Linked DNA regions of Homo sapiens: region 2 is linked to region 1. The links are contacts of gene promoters, found by promoter capture Hi-C in human tissues and cell types (Jung and others, 2019). All regions are on one chromosome and are shown on one strand. The core of a region is centred on a gene start or on the middle of the fragment in contact, and the rest is flanking DNA. Distances in the headings are between cores, read along the strand shown. Region 1 holds the start of SCAPER (S-phase cyclin A associated protein in the ER). Region 2 overlaps SCAPER (S-phase cyclin A associated protein in the ER).

Region 1 (5,267 bases), core at 174-2,673:
GGATAATTAAGAAATGAGGCCCTGACCGCCTTTTATAGAATTGTAGTATGCTCCCTACTCTATCCCCCTTATCCTACTCATTTTGTTAACTGTAGTGCTTATCATGTTATATAATTTACTTATTTATTGTGTTTACTATTTCTTGTGTTAAAAGCAAAATATTAGCCAAATTAAACAGAGTTTGAGCAAAGAATTATTCCCGAATCAGGCAGCCTCCTGAGCCAGAGTAGGTTCATACAGACTCCCGCAGAGCCACATGGTGGAAAAAGGTTTATAGACAGAGAAAGAAAAGTGAGGTAGGGAAACAGCCAGAATGGTTATAGCTAGACGTTTACCTTATTTGAACACGGTTTGAACAGTTGGCCGTCTTTGGCCAAAACTTGGTGATTGGCGCAAGAGTAGGTTGCAGTGTATTTACACCTCCATTTAGGTTATAGTTTACTATTTACGGAGAAACCTTCAGGCTGAACTTAAAATATGTAAGGACACAGCTTTTGGCTAAACTTGATGTAACACTTGCCTGGTTTCACCCTGCTCCAAGAAGCCGGAGGTTTTTTAGAGATTTCTGTTTATTTTGCTCACGTATTAACTCCAAGCATCTAGAATACCATCTGATATATAGTATGTGGTCAATAAACATTTGCTGAATAAATGAAAAAGCGAGTTTTCTAAGAAGGCAAGAGAGAAGGGGAGCCAGAACATAGCCATATGGTTCCTGCCCCCACAACGCTTGTGAGTCCAGGACTTCCCGCCTACTGCGGGTGGGGAGGGAGAGGGAAGGGTAAAGAGCTGTTTCCCAGCTGGATGAAAAGGGACGGTGAATATTCGTTTGATAATTACAGTCTGCATTGAATCTTTTTTCTATTTTGTTCAGACTGATTTAAACGTTAAAGTATTTAATTCATCATATGTTTGTCTTTGAAGTAGATGAAACGTATTTGTTAGGTCTCTGTACTTCGACCTTCCAAGCCTGGCACACAGAAGGGCCCTGATAAAGCTTCTCGGAGGCCTAGTTGTGTTCAGCGCAGCCCAGCGTGCTCCTGTCAAGTGCTTTCGCCAGCACAGATTTCTGTGAGGCGCGTCTCTAAGTCCTTAATCTGTGGATTGACTGTGGTGATAAGGCAGGAGGAGGGAAGAGATTGAGTACGAGAAAGACCTGTGTGGCCAAAAGCGGCGGTGTAAGCTTAACCTAGGAAAAGAAACAGCTTCGGAAACGCCGCGCCGGGACATCGAACCAAATCAACCCTCACACCTCCCGCCTGGGCGCCCCAACGGCGCGAACGGGCGTGCGCCTGCGCGCGGACAACACAGATCTTGCAGCCGGGAGCGGCGCGGCAGCGGCTGAGATCACGTGGTGCGCCGGGAAGCCACCCCGCCTCTCCGAGGCCTCCCTGCCCCGCCCCGTCACGCCCCTTTCCCGGCGGGACGCTTTGAGCCGCCCCGAACTAAGCAGGGCGGTCGGGGGTGAGTGTCCGCGAGGGGCGTGCGTAGCGCAGACCCGGGCGGGTCCGGGTTGGGGCGCGGGCCGTCTGAATGCCTTGCGGGGACCAGGGGACAAAATGGCGGCGGGGTACGCCCTTTCACCCCCTCCCCTCACCTGGGAGTGCGAGTTGAGCGGGGCAGGGATCGTTGCTGGGGGAGGGGAGCCGCGGTCGCCTGGGGAGGGCTCGGAGGTCGGCCTCGGAGGCCTCGGGACGGGGGCTGGGGTGAGCCGCGTCCGGGCCCTGCCCTGCGGGCTCATCTGGGGTGTGAGGGACGTGAGACCCCGCACACTACGCGGTCTGAGGGGTGAGTGGGGGGCTGCCGCGTCACCTCACTTGGGGGCAGCCCCGGCCGCGGGTGACGAGGCTTCTGGAATGTCTAAATGCGAGGGGCCCCTGGAGGAGCCTCCCTTCGTTTGACAGGTGATCGTCTTCGTCATCTGTCATTCCCAGCGGGGTTTACCATGCTTTCCCTGTACTCTGATCTTAGCTCTGCCCAGGAAACGGGGCAGGAATGGCCTCTCCGTCTTCCAGATGCGTGCGCTGAGGCCTGGAGGGGCGAAGAGCCTCTCGCACCTGGGAGTAGTGGGACCCAGCCTCCTGCCTCTGTTGCTGCTCTTTTCCAAAACAGCACTTCCTTGGCGCCTTTCCTCTACACCGTTTTCCAGGCGCGTTCGTGGGAACGGCACCAGGGAGGAACGGGATTGTTAGAAAGCAGGCACAAAACTGGTCCTGTAAGCAACACCTGCTGCTGTTAAGGGGGCCCCAGCTGAGATGAGGCCGCCTGTTTGTGAGCAGCTTCCTGTTGCTGGTGGACTGCATCTCTTATTCTAGTTGTGACAAGTTATTTTCCATGAAAATAGCTATTCATTAATAGTCATTTTACCGAACAGATACTAATTCCTTATATGAATTATAGTTTGTCTTAGTTTATGGATTAATTTCATCATTAACTTTTCATCTTCATAAATAATCTGGTAGAAGGATGGATGGGCTAGGAGTAATACTTATTTTATGAATGGAGAAACGGGGGCTCAAAAGGTTATTACTTGCCTTAGATCACCAGCTGGTGAGTGGTAAATCTGGGGTTAAGTTTTCTGACCTAAGGTTGGTAGTCTGACCACTGTCCCACTCTGGCCTATACTGGTGCTCTTTCCCTTCTGTTATTTCTGTTAACTATGACTTTTCCTCAAAGTTTGTTGGTTGCAGATGATTTATGCCACTTGAAGAATGATATCCACTAAAGAATTAATATTTTTAATCAATCAAAGAGTCAAGTTTTAATGTGATTTGGAAGGTTGTCTGTGGGAGAAGTAATCTGATGGCTTTGAAGGCAGACTGTTTTGAGTTTGAATCTCAGCCCCAACCCTTGTTTTTGGCAAATTAATTTTTCTGAGCCTTTCTTATCTGTAAAGTAGGAATAATATCCACCTCATAATTTTGTTGATAGTAATAAATTAGGTGTCTGTAAAGTATTGAGAACTGTTCCTAGCCCATGGTAAGCCCTCAACAAATGCTCTTTTCCTTCTTTCTCCACACTCCCTTGAGCTGCATTAAAAATATACTCTATGTGTCTTTGGTCCATTTGGGTCTGGTATAGCAAAATACCTCAGACTGAGTGGCTTATAAACAACAGAAATTCATTTCTTGCAGTTTTGGAGGCTGGGAAGTCCTAGATCAAGATGTCTGATGATTCAGTGTTTGGTGATAGCCTGCTTTCTGGTTAATAGATGGCACCCTCTAGCTGTCTCCTTACATGGTGCAAGGGTGAAGGGGTCTCTCTCTGGCCTCTTATAAGGGAATTTATCCCATTCATTAAGGTTCTGCTTTCATAATACAGTCATCTCCCAAAGGCCCCACCTCCTGATATGACCTTGGAAACTAGGATTTCCACAAGAATTTTGAAGAACACAAACATGCAGACCATAGCATTATGGTTAATCACTTGGTTGTTCAGGTCAAATAACCATGGAAGTGTAATCAGCAGTACTGTACAAATGTGTTTATAAATAAATTTTGGTGACTGGTCCAAAGGATATAGTATTCTAAACAGACTTTAAAAATGTTTGCCATTGGTGCTTCATAGGTATTTTAAGAACTCCTAAAAGATTGATATTAAGGTCATTAATGTCTTCATTTAGCTGCAGGAATGTTTTAAAGATAAGTAAGATGAAGGGACTTGAGATTCTGTCATTTCTTTCACTTTCTTTTTTTTTTTTTTGAAACCGAGTCTCACTCTGTCACCCAGGCTGGAGTGCAGTGGCGCAATCTTGGCTCACTGCAAACTCCACCTCCCAAGTTCAAGCGATTTTCCTGCCTCAGCTTCCTGAGTAGCTGGAACTACAGGCACTCACCACCATGCCTGGCTAATTTTTTTTTGTATTTTTAGTAGAGACCGGGTTTCACCATGTTGGCCATGCTGGTCTCAAACTCCTGACCTCAGATGATCCACCCACCTCGGCCTCCCAAAGTGCTGGGATTACAGGCGTGCGCCACTGCACCTGGCCTCTTTCACTTTCATACCTGACCACAGCCCAGACTAGTTTTAAAGGATAAACAACTTCTTTGGGAATCACATGTGAATGTTATTTAAACACTTAGAAAGTGGGGGTATTATTTAGGGGGAAGTTTAATAGAATTCTCTGTAAGGGTACAATCTGATATCCATTGTGGAATTGGCATTTCTGAAATTGTAGAAGAGAAAACTGTAAATGGCTGGCATAGCAAAAATTAAATCATTAATAAAATTCTGTTTGCAGTTTCTGCTGGATGGTAACCTTTTTTTAAAAAAAAATTCAACTTATATAGTAGAGGGTACATGTGTAGATTTGTTACATGGGTAAATTGATGCCGATGCTTGGGGTCCCAATTATCCCATCACACAGGCCATAAGCATAGTACACAACAGGTGGTCTTTCAGCCCATGCTCCCCTTGGCCTAGTGATCCCTAGTGCCTGTTGTTTGTGACTTTTACAATCACATATTCTGTGTTTAATTCCCACTTATAAGAGAGAACACACAGTATTTGGTTTTCTTTTCTCATGTTAAGTCACTTAGGACATTGGTCTCCAGCTCTATCCGTGTTGCTGCAGAGGGCATGATTTTGTTCTTTTTTATGGCTGCATAGTATTCCATGGTGCATTTGTAGCTAACCTTTTTCACAAACATGTTTGGCTTTCACTGATTGGCTATGGGTCTTGTGAAATATAAAGAGTGAAAAGATCTGGAGTCCAATGATGGAGCTAGTCTTAAAAATTATTAGAGGCTGGGTACGGTGGCTCATGCCTGTAATCCTAGCACTTTGGGAGGCTGAGGTGGGCAGATCACAAGGTCAGGAGATCGAGACCATCCTGGCTAACACGGTGAAACCCTGTGTCTACTAAAAATACAAAAAATTAGCTGGAGGTGGTGGCTCATGCTTGTAGTCCCAGCTACTCAGGAGGCTGAGGCAGGAGAATCGCTTGAATCCGGGAGGTGGAGGTTGCAGTGAGCTGAGATCGTGCCACTGCACTGCAGCCTGAACAACAGAGCGAGACTCCGTCTCAAAAAAAAAAAAAATTATTAGAAATTATTTATGGAAAGACTTTTTCTTCTATGACATGAAACACTAAAGATTTCATAAAGTTTTGCTAAAATGATAACTTCTTAAAGTAATACGTTCATTTTATGTTTTGAAACATACGCAAAAGAGAATAGTATGATGAACTGCTATGTATCAATCTATTTCAAAAATTAGCTATATATTATACATGAGCAATATTATTTCATAAAAGTTACCTCCTCACT
Region 2 (5,436 bases), core at 1,820-4,319, 340 kb after region 1:
TATGTGTCTGTTTTCGTACCAGTACCATGCTGTTTTGGTTATCGTAGCCCTGTAATATAGTTTAAAGTTGGGTAGCATGATGCCTCCAGCTTTCTTCTTTTTATTTTGGATTGCCTTAGCTATTTTGGCTCTTTTCTGCTTCCATATGAATTTAAAAAAAATTTTTCTTTTTTTAGTTCTGTGAAGAATATCAATGATAGTTTAATGGGAATAGCATTGAATCTAATAAATTGCTTTGGGCAGTGTGGCCATTTTAACAATATTGAGTCTTCTTATCCATGAGCATGGAGTGTTTTTCCATTTGTTTTTATCATCTCTAATTTCTTTGAGCAGTGGTTTGTAGTTCTCCTTATAGAGATCTTTTACCTCCCTAGTTGACTGTATTCCTAGGTATTTTATTCTTTTTGTGGCAATATGGAATGGGAATTTGTTCCTCATTTGCCTCTTCGCTTGACTGTTGTTGGTGTGTAGGAATGCTAGTGATTTTTGCACATTGATTTTGTATCATGAGATTTTGCTGAAGCTGTTTATCAGCTTAAGCTTTTGGACTGAGACAATGGGGTTTTCTAGATATAGGATCGTGTCATCTGCAAACAAGGATAGTTTGACTTCCTCCGTTTCTATTTGGATGTCCTTTATTTTTTTCTCTTGCCTGATTGCCCTGGCCAGGACTTCCAATACTATGTTGAATAGGTGTGGTGAGAGAAGGCATCCTTGTCTTGTGCCGGCTTTCAAGGATAAAGTTTCCAGCTTTTGCCCAGTCAGTATGATGTTGGCTGTGGGTTTGTCGTAGATGGCTCTTATTATTTTGAGGTATGTTATTTTAATACCTACTTTATTGAGAGTTTTTAACATGAAGGGATGTTGAATTTTATCAAAAGCCTTCTCTGTCTCTATTGAGATAATCATGTGGGGGTTTTTTGTCTTTAATTCTGTTTATGTGAGGAGTCACATTTATTTATTTGCATATGTTGAACCAACCTTCCATTCCAGAGATGAGACCTACTTCATCATGGTGGATAAGCTTTTTGATGTGTTGCTGGATTTGGATTGCCAGTATTTTGTTGAGAATTTTGCATTGATGTTCTTCAAGGATATTGGCCTCAAGTTTTCTTTGTTGTATCTCTTCCAGGTTTTGGTATCAGGATAATGCTGACCTCATAGAATGAACTGGGGGGGAGTCCCTCCTCAATTTTTTGGAACAGTTTCAGTAGGAATAGTACTAGCTCTTCTTTGTATACCTGATAGACTTCAGCTGTGAATCCTTCTGATCCTGGGCTTTTTTTGGTTGATTGGCTATTTATTACTGCATCCATTTCAGAGCTCATTATGGATCTGTTCAGGAATTCAGTGTCTTCCTGGTTCAGTCTTGGGAGGGTGTATGTGTCCAGGAATTTATCCACTTCTAGATTTTCTAGTTTATGTGCATAGAGGTATTCATAATATTCTCCAATTGTTGCTTGTATTTCTGTGCGTTCAGTGGTATTTTCTATTATTATGTAAACTAACTATTTTTGGACTATTTAAAAATGTATCTTTGAAACCTCTTGCCTTATGTAATACAGTACACAGATACTTACTTGCACAAAATAATGAAAACTATGAAGGCAAAAACCTCAGTGACTACTAATTGAGAAATAGGACATTGTCAGCATCCCAGAACCCTTTTGTCCGCTCCTGTTTATTTTGCTAATTACACTCCTTTCTCTGCATTTTATGATAAACTATTAATTTGACTTTTAAGAAGCGACTTCCTTTTCTTTATGGTTTTATCACTTAAGGGTCTGTTTCTAAACACCACATGTTAGTTAAACATGTCTAGTTTTGAACTTCATGTAAATGGAATCCTACTGTCTGCATTTTGATGGCTTCCTTCTATCAAAATTATGTTTTCGAGAATTTATGTTATACAGTTTTATTTCCATTACTGTATAATGTGCCATTGTATGAATTTGTCACAGTGGTATTTATCCATTCCACTGTTGATGGACATTTGGATTATTTTTATGAAAAATGTGCCTGTAAGCATGTATCCTGGTATTTGTGCAAAAATTTCTCTAGCAAGCAGAGTTCCTGGGTCATAACATATGTCTCTCTTTATCTTTTCTTGATAATGCTAAATAGTTTTCCAAAGAAATTGTACCAATTTGCATTTCTACCAGCAGTATATAAAAGTCTTGTTGCTTCCTTTCTTTCCAGCGCTTGTTATTATCAGACATTTTGATTTTTGCTACTTTTGTAGGTAGACAGTGCTATCTTGCCAAGATTTTAATGTACATTTGTTTTTTGGCAGATAGGTTGAGGCACCTTTTCATATTTATTGGCCATTTGGGTTTCTTCTTTTGTGACATGCCTGTTCAAATCTTTTGCACGTTTTTCTACTGATTGTTAGAATATCCTGTGTGTTCTGGACACTAGTCCTAGGTTATTCAAATGTATTAAACATATCTACTCCTGTTATTGAGCTGTGTTTTTATTGTCTTTTGGTTCTTTTGATGAACAAAAGTTCTTAATATTAGTATGTCAGATTTATCAATATTGTCTTTTATAAAGGTTGTTTTTGCTCTTCTTTTAAAATATCCCATCCCAAAGTAAAGAAGATATTCTCCTATATTCTTGAGGTTTTACTTTTAGTCTCTTGTCCATTTGGTATTAATTTTTTTTTTTTTTTTTTTTTTGAGATGAAGTTTTGCTCTTGTTGCCCAGGCTGTAGTGCAATGGTGCAGTCTTAGCTCACTGCAACCTCTGCCTCCTAGGTTCAAGCGATTCTTCCGCCTCAGCCTCCAGAGTATCTGGGGGATTATAGGCACGTGCCACCACACCCAGCTAATTTTTTGTATTTTTGGTAGAGATGGGGATCACCATGTTGGCCAGGTGGGTTTCGAACTCCTGACCTCAGGTGATCCACCTGCCTTGGCCTCCCAAAGTGCTGGGATTACAGGCCTGAGCCACCCCGCACCTGGCCTCTGCCTCATATTAATTAAAAAAAAAAAAAAAAACTAATACTAGGAGGCAAAGGTTGCAGGGAAGCAAAGGTTTCAGTGAGCCGAGATTGAGCCATTACGCTCCAGCCTGGGCAAAAGGAGCGAAACTCCGTCTAAAAAAAAAAAGTGAGGTAGAGACTTCATTTTGTTTTTCTTGCCCGTATAGATGCATAATTTCTTGAGTGTCGTTTATTGAAAAGACCAGTTTTAATAACTGTATTCTACCTACATACTGTGATTAACCACCCTTCCCTAAAACAGTGCTAAGAAAAGTTACTCAAAGCTGGTAAAATAGCACACTTCCCTCAAGTATCGGTTTTATTAAAACATTTCAGGGAACAAAAACATTAAAAAAAAATTTTTATAATCCTAAGTTTTTGTCCATACCTGTGCAAAAGATACTAAAAATATCTCTTGAAGAAAGGTAGTATATAAAATACTTTATGGTAAAATAATTTTTAAAGGAAATTTCAACCAGGCATGTCAATTATTACAATAGGTAAGAAATATCATGAAAATGATATTTGAGAACCAGAAGTAGGACCATTAATTATTTAATCTTAATTTTAAGTAAATAAATTATAAGCTCTTTTGGCCCAACATGTGACATTGAGTGATGTTATTTCTCAGTAAGCAGATGTGCTTATTAAGGTTTCTGCTTATAGCAGCCTGATAGTATTCCATCATGCTAACTCTCTGGCTATATTCTACTCTAAGCTCACCTTAGTGATTGATTGCCTCACGCAGTGAGTAAATACTTACTGTTTTTAACCACATTTATGTAAGTCTGGGTTCTCGGAAATAATGACACTAAAAAAAAATGAGAGAAATTGCCCGTGTATGGATCCTGATGCTAGCTGTCTTCAGTTCAGCTCAGTTCTTTTAAATTAGTAGACTCCATGACAGATACCCTGTGTATTAACTAATGCAGGTAGAAAACTCATTTCTCCTTAATATAATACATTATTTTCTAGTTATGATAAACATGGGCCATATGGAAAAAATTGAGAAGTCTTGAAGGTATTTCTTTCTAGTGCTAGGTGTATATCCCCCAGCACTGCATCCCTGGGAATTCACTTTTCTTTGATACTACAAAGTCGTAAATGGATACTTGGAGAACTGTACTCTAGAATAAATTAAATCATTTAGCTTATTTTCTATTCCATTCCCAGGAACTATGAAGAAACAGGATTGTTGAAAGTGATGATGTGGGTTGGATTTGGATCATCATTGGGAAGGTATTTAGGGAAGCAGTTAAGAGCAGTGTTAAAAGCATGGACCTAGAACTTACTGTTTTGTTATTGTGTGACCCTGGACAAGTTAATTAATTTCTCTGGGTGTCAGTTTCCTTATCAGTAAAATATAAGGTTTTGGCACATCCCGAAGAATTGTGTGGCTATTAAATGAAATATTGCAATCAGTAGGCAGTCAGCAAGTGTTGAAACAATATAATGCACCTGTTAAGAGCACAGGCTTTCTAGTTACGGGCCTGAATTCAAATTCCAAATAGATCATGTAGTAGCTGTGTGAGTTCACCAAGGTTTTATTAACCTTTGTAAGTTTCAGTTTCTTCCTTTGAAAAGTAGGATAGGATTACTCCCTTCAACCTCCTTCACAAGGGTACTAATTCCATTTCCAAGATTAGAGACCTCCTAAATTATTTCCCCAAAGGACCCACACCCAATGCTATCACACCGGGGATTAAGTTTCTACATGTAAATTTGGAGAGGGGCACACAAACATTAAGACCATAGCAGAAAGCTAATAAGAAAAAAAAAAATAAAACTCAGTGGGAATGACACCATAAATATTTGATGTGTGGGAATTTGATGTTTCTAACAAAATAGCATAACTATTTTAACTTTCTTTACAAAGTAGTAAACATATGCATACCCATACACACACACATACACACACACACACACATATACAAGTTGTTGTTTCTCTTTAACTTTTAGTTTTAGGGGCATATATGCAGGTTTGTTACTTAGGTAAGTTTTGTGTCATGGGGATTTGGTGTACAGGTTATTTCATCACCCAGGTAATAAGCGTAGTACCCAACAGGTAATTTTTCAGTCCTCAACCTCCTACCAAGGTCCACCCTCAGGTAGGCCTTGGTATCCATTGCTCTCTTCTTTGTGTTCATGTGTACTCATATTTAGCTCCCACTTACAAATGAGAAGTGGTATTTGGTTTTCTTTTCCTGCATTTGTTCACTTAGGATAATGGCCTCCAGTTCCATCCATGTTCCTGTAAAGGACATTGTATTAGTCTGTTTCATACTGCTATAAAGAACTGCCACATATTGGGCAATTTATAAAGGAAAGAGTTTAACCGACTCACAGTTCCATATGGCTGGGGAGGCCTCAGGAAACTTACAATCATGGCAGAAGGCAAAGGGGAAGCAAGGCACCTTATTTACAAGGCGACAGGAAGGAGAAGTGCTGAGCGA

Evidence for each region. The method cuts DNA at HindIII sites, captures the fragments that hold promoters and counts their contacts. A contact is called where the count stands out against the background at its distance.
Region 2: a fragment that was not itself captured here is called in contact with the fragment with the promoter of SCAPER in region 1 in 1 of the 25 tissues and cell types used here (H1 embryonic stem cells).

What each region holds. Positions count from the first base shown.
Region 1 is chr15:76,901,496-76,906,762 of GRCh38, reverse strand. It overlaps SCAPER (S-phase cyclin A associated protein in the ER), which reads left to right and starts at 1,423. Exons shown (of 32, transcript NM_020843.4): 1 at 1,423-1,464. RefSeq lists an enhancer at 1,077-1,577 and silencers at 1,318-1,627, 1,638-1,747, 1,768-1,847. The HindIII fragment of the contact is 13,869 bases long and covers 1-5,267 here.
Region 2 is chr15:76,559,391-76,564,826 of GRCh38, reverse strand. The region is part of intron 23 of SCAPER (S-phase cyclin A associated protein in the ER); the gene reads left to right. Among named protein-coding and RNA genes, the nearest start is that of MIR3713, 25 kb to the left of the region's middle. The HindIII fragment of the contact is 4,573 bases long and covers 783-5,355 here.